Regions from separate parts of the Homo sapiens genome. Here region 1 is linked to region 2. The links are contacts of gene promoters, found by promoter capture Hi-C in blood cells and fetal thymus (Javierre and others, 2016). All regions are on one chromosome and are shown on one strand. Each heading gives the region's core, a stretch centred on a gene start or on the middle of the fragment in contact. The rest is flanking DNA. Distances are from core to core; before and after follow the strand shown.

What was found. The method cuts DNA at HindIII sites, captures the fragments that hold promoters and counts their contacts. A CHiCAGO score of 5 or more calls a contact.
Region 1: a contact is called between a fragment that was not itself captured here and the fragment with the promoter of CCNJ in region 2, in 2 of 17 cell types (naive CD8 T cells and total CD8 T cells). The highest score is 5.3, in naive CD8 T cells.

What each region holds. Positions count from the first base shown.
Region 1 is chr10:96,132,303-96,138,318 of GRCh38, reverse strand. ZNF518A (zinc finger protein 518A) reads right to left here. Exons shown (of 6, transcript NM_001330736.2): 2 at 5,649-5,733; 3 at 4,671-4,736. LOC124902486 (a long non-coding RNA gene) reads left to right here. Exons shown (of 2, transcript XR_007062254.1): 1 at 1-1,904; 2 at 1,965-6,016. Among named protein-coding and RNA genes, the nearest start is that of ZNF518A, 5.0 kb to the right of the region's middle. The HindIII fragment of the contact is 732 bases long and covers 4,103-4,834 here.
Region 2 is chr10:96,042,141-96,048,119 of GRCh38, reverse strand. It overlaps CCNJ (cyclin J), which reads right to left and starts at 4,537. Exons shown (of 6, transcript NM_001134375.2): 1 at 4,401-4,537; 2 at 3,658-3,767. The coding sequence starts at 3,726. All of the region lies in intron 2 of ENTPD1-AS1 (ENTPD1 antisense RNA 1), which reads left to right. RefSeq lists silencers at 4,257-4,826, 4,954-5,148. The HindIII fragment of the contact is 7,328 bases long and covers 1-5,837 here.

The DNA.
Region 1 (6,016 bases), core at 3,219-5,718, 90 kb before region 2:
ACAGGCCCTGATAGAAACTGTAAAGGCTTTGGTTTTATTCTGAATCAGAGAGGAAGCTACTGGAGCATTGTGGGCAGAGAATTACCATGAGTCGAATTACTTCTATCACTTGGGCTGCTATGCTAAGAACAGAGTATTCAGGAGGGATTAAGAGTAAAGACAAAGACTACACAGTACAATTATCCAAGTAAGAGTTGATGGTGGTTTGGCTGAGACAATGAGGCATGGTCAGATTGAATATATTTTGAAGCTAGCACCTACAAGATATCCTGATATGCTTTCTCTGAAAGAAAGAGACATGTCAAGGATAACTCTAGAAGTTCTGACAGCATTGGAAAGAACTGAGTTGCTATTCACCGAGATATAAAAGATTGTTAAAGTAATAGGAAAGTTTATCAAAAGTTCCATTTTAGGCATGTAATATCTGAGATGTCTATTTGACATCCAAGAGGAAATGTGGACTGTGTGGCTGGATATAGAATACAGAGGGCTAGGTGGATGATGAAATTTGGGGAGTTATCGGTGTGTGTATATGTACATATGTACTTTCAAGTACTTGGAGCAGGATGAAATCACCAGGGGGAATAAACAAAAAGAGCAGTCCAAGGCCTGAGCCTCAAGATTCTATAACACATCCAACAGAAAGAGATTAAAAAGAACCAGCAAGTGAGACAGAAAAGAAATGACCAATAAGAGTTAAGGTAAATCAAGAATGTGGTATCCTCAAAGCAAAATGAAGAAAATGTTTACTGGATAAGGGATTGAACAACTCTGTCAAGTAAGAAGATGACTAACTAGACTTAATGTGAAGATCACTGGTACCATGGATTAGAACAGTTTCAGTGGAGTTTTAGAGGAGAAAGGCTGACAAGCTTGGATGTAAGGCAAAATGGGAAGAGAGGAAGTAGTGATGCAGTGCAGACAACTCTTTCAAGGAGTTTTAAGATAAAGGAGTTGTTTTGTTTTGTTTCAATTTATTTTTTGTTTTTTAAAGGTGGGAGGAATTACAGTATGACTGCACGCTTATTAAAATGATCTAGTAAAAATAAAAAAATTGATGATAAAGGATAGGAAAGAAATGCAGCAGTGAAGTCCTTCAGGTTAGAACGGACGGAATCTAGTGAACGAGCTGAAGAGGTGAACTTAGAAAGGAGCAAACATGATCCATCTATAGTAACTAGAGGGGAGGATAAATAAAGATGCTAGCAGGTGCGCAGATGTGACTGAGAGAGTTTGTGGAATGAAATGACGGCCTGCAGGCCAAATCTGGCCTGCTGCCTGTTTTTGTAAATTAAGTTTCACTGGAATACAGCCACACTCACTCATTTACATATTGCCTATGGCTTCTTTTGTGTTACAATAGTTGCACCAGAAACCATATGGCCCACAAAGCCTAAAATATTTACTATCTGGCCATTTACAGCAAAAGCTTGCCAACCTTGGTATAATGGAATAATCCAACTGCTACTCTCTGAGGGTCAGATGCGAGGCTCTGAGGAAAGAAGGTAGGCAAGGACATAGGAAACTACAGCATTTAATGAGACAATGACACAACAATAAATTCTACATCATTCCTAGTTCTGGAGCCCAAAATGAACGTTCTATGAGCAATCAATCATCACTTTAAGTCTGTTCCTTATCTTTAAAAACATTTTTTTTTAAATAGAGATGGGGTCTCACTATGTTGCCCTGGCTAGTCTTGAACTCCTGGGCTCAAGCGATCCTCCCAGCTCAGCTGCTCAATGTGCTGGGACTACAGGCATAAGCCAGCTCATTAAAAAGCCACATTAAAACGCCTTTAAATGTTTTTACATCTATTGCTACATTCGTTTCAAACTGGCTTTCTCACTAAGGAATAGGGTATGGCTTTGACTATTACTAAGAGATCTCTCAAAAAGGGAAAGGTAAGAAGAAATAAATAAATATATATAACATTTCTTCTTACCTTTCCCTTTTTGAGAAAGGTTATATATACATATTTATAAATCGGCATTCCAAGTTAATTGCTATTTTTAAAAAATCTTCAAGACAGATGAATAAAACAAAGGTTTTTGCCAAAATGAGTAATTTTACAGTATTTCATCACATTTAATTCACATTTTAGCATACAAAAATGAAATTATATGAAAAGAAATATACACATTTTTTCAAAGAAATCTCCATCTTAGTAGAAAGGGCCAAAATTTCTGCTTGGCTTTCCAAATGCCTCATACATAGATTTACCTAAAACAGTCACCTTATTTTCCACTACCTCATTTCCAAAGAACACATACTGTTACAGTGAAACCAATCTCCACTCCAACCTGGATCAGCCTATAATCATTTTTAACTCCATCCTTTTTTCAGTTATTCTCTGTGCCTATCAAAGCCACATTCATAAGCAGAAATACATTTAAAGTTGTATATTCTTCAGGAAATCTTCCTAAATGGGCCAACCTGCTCACTTCCTTCCCATCAAAATTCACTTAAAATACAACTGTGCATTCATTTATCTGTTTTTTCTGTTGTGTTTGCTGTATATTAATATGAATTCCTAACTAGAAGCACTTCCAAGACAAGGAATTCTTCTTGTTCTTACATTATTACTTAGATGCCAAGCACCACAGTCATTATTCTCAACACACGCTTATTAATCTGTGCACCAGAAATAAATAAAAATATGCTATATATCCACCATCCACTCAGTCTAGTACATATAATCTTGCCTATCCAGGCAGTTGCACATACTTGTACATAGTGGACACTCAAAAAAATGTTTGTAGGTTGAGTGAAAGTAGATTGAATGCATGCACAAATGATGAATAAATAAAGGGAACTCTTTATAAGGTATAGGAAAGTGGGGAACTACAGAAGGATGTGAATGATCAATCTGAAACTTTAGACCTTAAATTCATAAGGGCCATATATTCATCAGAACACTTTCTGCTGCAATCCAATTCAAACCAATTTACACAAAAAATTTTGGCACAAGGACTGAGAAGGACACCAGGATAGTTCACAAAATCAAAAGAAAAGTAGGTACCACTTACCATGTTCCCTGAGATTGAAACTGGCACTACCACCATCCATCTCCCATCTCCTTATGGCTTCACTTTCTCCCACTACACAGATGCGCTTTTCATACACGTGGTAAAGAATGCCACCAGCACCTTCCCAGATTAACAATTTCAGAGAAAAGGTAGTATCTTTGTCCTAGCATTCAACCATAAATTTCAAAAAAAGGATTCTGACTGGCTCTGCATGAGTAACAGCAATCACTGTTGCAATAGGGATGACCAAGCTCAGGTTATAAGACAGTAAGACTGACGGACAGCCCACCAACCACTCAGAATAGGGGAGGGGTGGTTCTCTAATGAAGAGATACTGAGTTGACAAAAACAATATATGACATGTCTTTTACCAGCCACAACCTTCAACAAACCAATATTAATCAGGAATTGACGATAAGCTTACTACATTTTGAAATTATCTGACTTTCCTCATGAAATGAGACCTATGTGAAGCCCACTTAATTTTCTGAAACTTCACATCATGTACCTTCATTCTAATATTCTGACACTTGTTTCATGCAGCCATACCAGTCACAACTTTAAATTTTTAGTCAGACTTTGCTCACAAGTTTTCAAGATAAATTAATACAAATCGTTTTGGTCAGTCATCACACAGCAGTCTCCTATTTACTTCACTACAACTACAGCTTTCATTCTTCATTACATTACTTTTTCTGAGTAGTCTGGGTCAAATAGTACAAACTGAATATTCCTTAACCAAAATGCTTGGAAGTAGGCCGGGAGCAGTGGCTCACCCCTGTAATCCCAGCACTTTGGGAGGCCAAAGCAGACAGATCACTCAAGGTCAGGAGTTCTAGACCAGCCTGGCCAACATGGCGAAGCCTCGTCTCCACTAAAAATAAAAAAAAAATTAGCCAGCCATGGTGGCATGCGCCTATAGTCCCAGCTACTCGGGAGGCTGAGGCAGAAGAATTGCTTGCACCTGGGAGGCAGAGGTTGTAGTGAGCCGAGATCGCGCCACTGCACTCCAGCCTGGGTGGCAGAGTGAGACTCCGTCTCAAAAAAACAAAACAAAACAAAACAAAAAAGCTTGGAACCAGAAGTGTTTCAGATTTCAGATTTTTGTGGATTTTGGAATATTTGCATTACTTACTGGCTGAATATCCAAAATCCAAAATGTTCCAGTGATGATTGCCTTTGAGCTTCATGTCAGCACTCAAAAAGTTTCAGATTTTGGAGTATTTTAGATTTCAGGCTTTTAGATTTGGGATGCTCAACCTTTAGGAAAATTCTTAGCATTCAGAATTACTTTATCTCTTCAGGAATAACACAGTACCCATGTGAATCTCGTGGTAGGAAGTCAAACAAATATTATATAGGAAAAAGTTACTTAATGACATAAACGATAACGTGGTACCTCAACTCAGCTCTACTGCTCTCTACTCAATGTACATTATTTTCTGACAAAATAAAAATTCATGCCTTTGTAAAAAAATGGCCCTGAACAGAAATCCATTTGCTGGTGAAGTTCAGGGAAGAACACGGTTATTATGATAATTAAAGCAATACTGTAAGGTGGTATAGTCTATGTCAGCTATTTCAGCAGTTACATAAATAATCTTATTCCTAATTTACGGTCATACTTATGTGTATACTTACTGCATTTAGAGGAATTTTATGATACTGTGGTATCCAAGAATCTTAGCATTTCAAAGATCCCAGGACCTATCCAACACAAAGAGTAGGAGACATCTGTGTTTTGAGGGTAGAAAAAACATGTTTTTTTACATGGGTACAATATTTTCCACTACATTTCCAAAGCTTTCCTTATAATACCATAGATTTGTTGGCATATTTTTCCTCCTTTTTTGTCTACACCCAGACATTCACATGACTGTCTTCAAGAAACCAATCATAACACTATAGTGATTCCCAAGTCCCTTTCCTGATTCATAATGAAGATGCTATTAGTCATAATATAAACACATATCAGATAATTTTTCTTTAGGTACATTGCTTTGCACTTACTAGACCAAAACCACAATCTTCTGGCCATTCATATAGCTTTGAAACATCTATCTACCACCTTTATCTCCACTGTTCATTACCCAGAAGACTTTAATGCCACTTTTCTATTCAGAAGGATGATAGTTAAAGTTATATTTGGATTTCTAATAAAATGTTAAGTAATAAACTATGAAACCAAAAATTACTTTTTTTGCTTAGATTAAAATGAAAACTCATGTTTAAGTATTTTATTTTAGCCAAAAAATAAAATAAAACTATAACTTATATAACTTATGAAAACTCATGTATATGTAAAACTACAGGTTGAGTGTCTCTTATTTGAAATGCTTGGGAACAGAAGGGTTTCATTCTTTTTTTCTTTTTCTTTTTTAGGATTTTAGAGTATTTGCATTATACCAGTTGAGCATCTCAAATCCAAAAATTCAAAATCCAAAATGTTCCAAAGAGCATTTCCTTTGACCATCATGTCAGCACTCAAAAAATTTTGCATTCTGGATTTTTGGATTTGGGATACTTAACCTATATTTTACTTTATTTAGTCCAATATTAAAACATACCAACTTACTACTTAATAGACTATATACTCCAGTATTTCAATCTTTACCATACCTCTTTCTTCAGGAACAAAAGGCACACAATTTAACACTTGCACAATGTCACAATCAGGAACAGTGATCAAAAGAAGAGATGATATCTGGAAATGAAGACCAAGATTTTAAAACTTTTGACGACAAAAACTGTTCAATTACACTTCACATTCAACTTAGGTGTATAAAGAAATGTAAAAAAAAAAAAAAAAAACTAAGAAAAAACTTCTATACACTTAAGCATACATCATTGATGACCAGTGATAACATGTCACAAATTTGCAAAAGTCACAACCTAAAGCTTAGAATCAATCTAACTCAGTATCTTCATTTATTACAAGAAAAAGAAAATGAGCCTTGCCCAAAGTCACAAAACTAGAAATAATATCT
Region 2 (5,979 bases), core at 3,288-5,787:
AAGATCACGTCCTTTGCAGAGAGATGGATGGAGCTGGAGGCCATTATCCTTAGCAAACTAATGCAGGAAAAGAAAACCAAATACCACATGTTCTCACTTATAAGTGGGAGCTAAATGATGAGAACACATGGACACATGTTGCGGGGAACAACACACACTGGGGCCTGTCGGAGGGTGGGGGTGGGAGGAGGAAGAGGATCAGGAAGAATAGCTAGTGGATGCTGGGATTAATACCTAGGTGATGGGATGATCTGTGCAGTAAGCCACCATGGCAAACGTTTACCTATGTAACAAACCTGCACATCCTGCACACGTACCCCTGAACTTAAAAGTTGGGGAAAAAAAGTTTTATGTTGATACATTTTACGATAAACAAAAAAGGGAAGTTATATATTCACCTAACTTAATATTACCTAAGATAAATGGATAAAATAGTCAATGTAATTTAGTAGTGTAGCCAAAGAATACATCAATTGTTGTTTTTTGAGACAGGGTTTCCTGTAGCCCAGGCTGGAGTACAGTGGTGCCATCTTGGCTCACTGCACCCTCCACCTCCCAGGCTCAAGCAATCCAACCACCTCAACCTCTGGAGTAGCTGGGACTACAAGCGCTCACTGCCACGCCCAGTTAGTTTCTGTACAACAGGGTCTCGCTATGTTGCCCAGGCTGGTCTCCAGCTCATGGACTCAAGTGATCCACCTGCTTTCAGCCTCCCAAAGTGTTGAGATTACAGGTGTGAGCCACCATGCCTGGCCAAAAAAATTTTTTTTTTCCACATAAAGGGAAGATGCCGATTTCTCATGTAGTTCCTAGGATTTTTCTTTTCTCCTTAACTCTTTCTTTGGATCTTTACAATGGTGTAAGTGAGTTGCAACTTTACCTTTGCTGCCACCATGTGACATTTATTGAGCATCTCCCATGCAGCAGACACTATACTAACCCAGGCATAAAAGCTGGAAAAACAGTCTCAAGCCTATCTCTAGCAGGTGAATCAAATACAGAGCTTATCACACAATATAGTCACCACAGGTTATTATGGCAACACCTAGGAAGAAAATCTAACTTAGCTCAGGGATTAGGGAGTTGGGGAAAAAAGGCAAAACCAGAGCAGGTTTTCCCAAAAAGTGGCCTGAACATGGTCTTAAAGACTCCCTGGAAACACCTGGAAAACACTGATGGACTTCACTTTCTTAATGTTTCTCACAAAGCTAGAATTGTTCCCATTTGTCATTAAGGCTCCTAAAAACACTTTCCCAAACAGCCTATGACACTAACTATACACAGCAAAATAATGAGAAGAAAGGAGACAAAAGGGTGTAAGGTGACAGCTGCTTTGTAGGGGTTTTTTGAGGGAGTGGATAGTTGGCATGATTTCCATTCATTGTCATTTTCACTCTTCCCTAGTAAACACAATGCTAGTCACACCAAATATTTCTCCACAAACCTAGGGCCTAAACATAGAATACCTTCTGCAGTATCTCAATGGCAACTGCCCAAAGGAAGACCTAAATGTGGATGCTCTAAATTATAGATAAGGTTAGACTATGAAGGCAAGGATCATGTCTCGTTCACTGTTATTGCTCTAACACCTGGCATGATATCATGTATGTCATAAATGATCAACATGTTGAAGAAAAACAGATGACTATCCGACTGAATCACCAATTAATAGCCTGGAATTACCACGTCTTTTCTAGGAGAAAAGTCCATTTTAAGTTTCCTTCAGTGTATTACAAACAGTGGTCTCTCCAGTTCCACAAGTTTAAGTTTTACAGATTAATGTAAATTCTTGTATAAAGTGTTGCCAGTAAGAACCATGGTTTGCATAATGCTTAAACATAAAGACAACCCAGGGCAGTAGGCCATAGGTGGCCCAATAAAACTTTCAGTGGCATTCCTTCACACCCTGTGCTACCTTGTCCTCTGATAGTTCATAAGCAACTTGAGTGAGTATAAGGTTGGGTCTTATGCCTTGGATGCTCCAGAAACTAATCCACAAAAGCCTTCAACAAATCTAAATCTAGGAGAAAAAACAAAAAAACAAAGAACCCATGTCCAAACTCAATTGACAAAATGCAGATAATCACTCACGAATTAAAATGATCTACACATAAAATGATTGAAAAGTATGGAAATCACCAAGAAAAACCTTTTAAGTTTCATGCCAATTAAAAAATATACTCTTGGCTGGGCGCAGTGGCTCATGCCTGTAATCCCAGCACTTTAGGAGGCCGAGGCAGGTGGATCACCTGAGGTCAGGTGAAACTCCAACTCAAAAAAAAAGTACTCTTAATATCAACTAATTAATTTCACTACATACCAGAGGGATAAAAAGGCTGACACTTAAAACACTTTTCAAAATATGTGCAACTATATTAATTTTTTTAAAAAAGAAAACATTTCACATTGAAAGATGACATCTGCCAAAAAAAAAAAAGATCAAAAGTGTATCTGGACAATTTTCCAAGAAACTGCAACTCTTTCCTAACTAACACTCCAGAGATCCCATTAGTTAGAATTTTTATGTGGTATAAACCATCTCCTAGGGGGCTGAACTGTATTTTAGTGAATCTAAGAGACTGAATGTCAGAATTAGTTAAGTAGCATTTAGAAATCTCAGGCCTAGAAAAGGGTAACAATTTAAGTCAGAATTAGGTTTTCCAATCTACTTGACCTGGTCAGAAACTCAAGATAAAAGTTCATTATCATTCCAGGATCTCAACCCCAAGAGTCAGAATCCTTTTTATTGAAAGTCAGCTGTTTTGCTTCTTTCTCAATTTTCTACATTTAACAAATGGCTTTCTTTATCCAAGGTGAAACTGAGTTAAGCTAGAGATCATTTTGGATCTGGTCTCTCTTTTGGTTATCGAAGAGGCAGAAATGTCTCATTAATCTGCCTTGCCACATGCAGAGTAAAACCGTTACTTAATAGCAACAATACACAGACTTTGCTTTGTGTTGGAAAAGTATTTTTTTCCAATATCTATTAAGTCTACTTTCTGCCTTTGATATCAGCAGGAAGGGGCAGCCAACTCCCTCCACTTTAGGGCTTTTGAACAGCCCAAATCCTGAGGGGTAAGTGATAAGAAGTTATCACTTAGTGCTTACTATATACCAAGAGCAGTTTCTAAGCACATGTACGGTACTAACTTAAGTTTCACAATCGCCAGAATCATAAGGCACACTCATTATTCCTCATTTTACAGATGAGGAAATCAAGAAACAGAAATTTCACTTGTCCACGTCTCACGGCAAGTTAGCGGAAAGGCTGAGGAATTTATGTACAAAAGCGACTTAAACTGGCTGCATGCAACGGCAACTCTCGAACAAAGAGGGCTGTTCTGCCCAACAAAAATTCAGTGTATATATCTTTTAAAATACAAGATCAAATTCATGACCCACCTGGAAGCCAGAACGCCCCTTTCCACCTTCCCTGGCCCAACTACCATCTCCCTACTCATTCAGGTTGCAGGTTCTTTTGATACATCCCAGAGAAGGAGCCAAGAAGTTAATTAACCTTGAGCAAATGAGCAAACTCGCCTTTTCTGGCCCGGAAGATAGTGAGTAAAGAACCTGACTAGACCTTCTAGAGAGCCGAGATTCAGAACAACTGGCGCGACACACAGAAGGAGAAGGCAGGCCGGGCCTCGGAGTTACCTTGTAGCGAAGCGCTTGGTGAATATCGGCGGCCAGCTGTCCTCGCCACCACTGCCCCTCCAGCTCCATGGGACCCGGCGGCGCGCCCAGCCCGACGCGGCAACTCGAGTCTGTAAGACACACCCCAGGCGCGGTCACTGCCGGCTCCCCCGCGACCCTCTGCGCCCCCTCCCCGGGGGGTGTGACCTCAGGCCACCCGGTGTGGCTGCTCATCTTCACTTGACTCTTCCTCAACCCAGCCCGACCCGAGTCGTTTCCCCCAACGCCACACGCGAAGCCGGGTCTGCCCCCGCAGGAAGAGCCGAAGGACTCTGAGACTCACTGCTCGACTATGTGTCGGGCAAAAGGGGATCCACTCGGGCCCTGAGTTGCCAAAGCGCGGAGCCAGGTGCGAGCTCGGGAAGAGCTGGGGGAGGCCCGGCTGGGGCTCCCTGCGTCCGGGGCTGGAGTTCTCCCGCCCTCCCTGAGGAGCGGGGAGAGGTGACACGCTCATAGCCCCGCTGAGGGGAAACGCTCCCATGGCAAAGCCCGGGGGTGAGCGTCTGCCTGGCCGCGGGTCTCCGCATGGACGTCGGGAGCCTGCTCCTCCCCGGGAGCCCCGAGAAACGCACGTTCCGCGCGGCCTCAGAAAGGGGAACAAAAGGCCGGGCCAGCCAGGCTCTGCGCCTCACCCCGGGAGGGTCCGCTGCCCCACGCCTACCCCAGGCCTGCCGGGCCGCCCGGCCCCACGCTGGCTCCCTTACCCGGAACCGCGGCCCTCACAGCCCCAGCCCCGCCGTCGTGCGGCGGACGCCGGCCCCGCTCATGCTGCGGACAGTGGGCCGCTAAGCGCCGGCCTCAGCTAGAGCCCAGCGCCTGGACGCTCGCGCCGCCCATTGTTAAAGGACCGGCAGGCGGCTCCGCATACAAAGCCAGCGCGGGGGCACTTGAGGCCCCGCCGCTGCCAATCTCGTCTCGCGATACAGCGGGGTCGCCCCGAGCCGTCCAATTGGCGGCCGGGCCGGGCCCAGGTGCAGCGCCAGGCGGCGGCGCGGCGGCTCCCGCCTGGGTACGGTCAGCATCCCGCACGGCGCGGCGTGGCCTGGGCTGGCCTGGCGCTTCGGTTGCCGGGGCGCTCAGCCGCCACCTACTGCGAAGCCGGCCTGATCGCCGGCTGAGGTCGGCAGAGAGCGCCGGAGAAATTGTAAGGTGGATCACTGCAGTGACCAATCCAGTTAGGCCACTCACCTGCTGAGAACCTTCGATGGCTCCTCGATGCCCGCGGAGCAAAGTTCCGACGCCTCAGTTTGGCGTTTAAAAGTCTTCACGGCATGGATTCGGTTTACCTTACTTCACGTTGCACCAACCGCTTCCATCCCAGGGGCTGCTCCGTGGATCATCAGGCCCTCCAAATGTGCTTTAGCTGTTTCTGCAGCCCCTGAAGCGTTTTTTTTTTCCTGTGAAATTATGCTCTTTTTTTAAGTTCCACCTCAAACTCCACCTTTCTTCTAGAAACCTAATTAATCTCTTCCCCCTCCTTATTTTCGTTGCTGTAGGGATTCCCAAGAGCTTTGAATGAAGACATTTAAGATTACTTCTAGTAACCTTGCTTGTCAAACCCATGGTGGATGTAATTAACCATCTGTGCTCGTAAATCAGGAAACTGCAAAACTGTGAGAACACTCCGACGTCAATTGAGGTGATATGGGGGCTGAAATGTGATTAGAGGAAACCTAATCAATTGTATTTTAACCTCTTTGGTGGATTATCACAAAAGAGGTGGATGGTAACCCTAGGACAGTGAGACTGTCCACTTTTCTGAGACTGGAGATCAATCTCTTAATAGTAAAACGTAAATATTTTTAAAACTTCACCCCTTTTACTTTGAATCCTTTGTCCAAAAAGATACATGATGATAAAGAACTACTACAAAGTGATAAATACATTTTATGTGATTCTGGGTGGCATCTTCATTTGAAGATCATCAGCAGACATGTATATGAGCCGTACCCTATCCATAGACGATGCTTATACCCAGGAGAGCAGGCCCGCAGGAACCAAAGGCAAGAAAAGGGAAACTCAGAAGCTGAAGTTGGCAGATCCCGGCCTAACCCGACATAGTCCAGGGAGAAGGCTGCCCTGGCCTGTCTCTCAGTTGCAGGGTCCTCTAGAGTGAAGGTAGACACATCAGGCTAAAAGCTTCATGCCATTTTTAATGGCATTTAAATAGTGTCTACATCCTTGGGTTCCATTTCATGACTATTAAACAACTTTATAATAATTTGGCTTCTAAATAACTGTCCAGGGCCTATTTAAGAACACTTTCAGAAAAATGGGGCACAG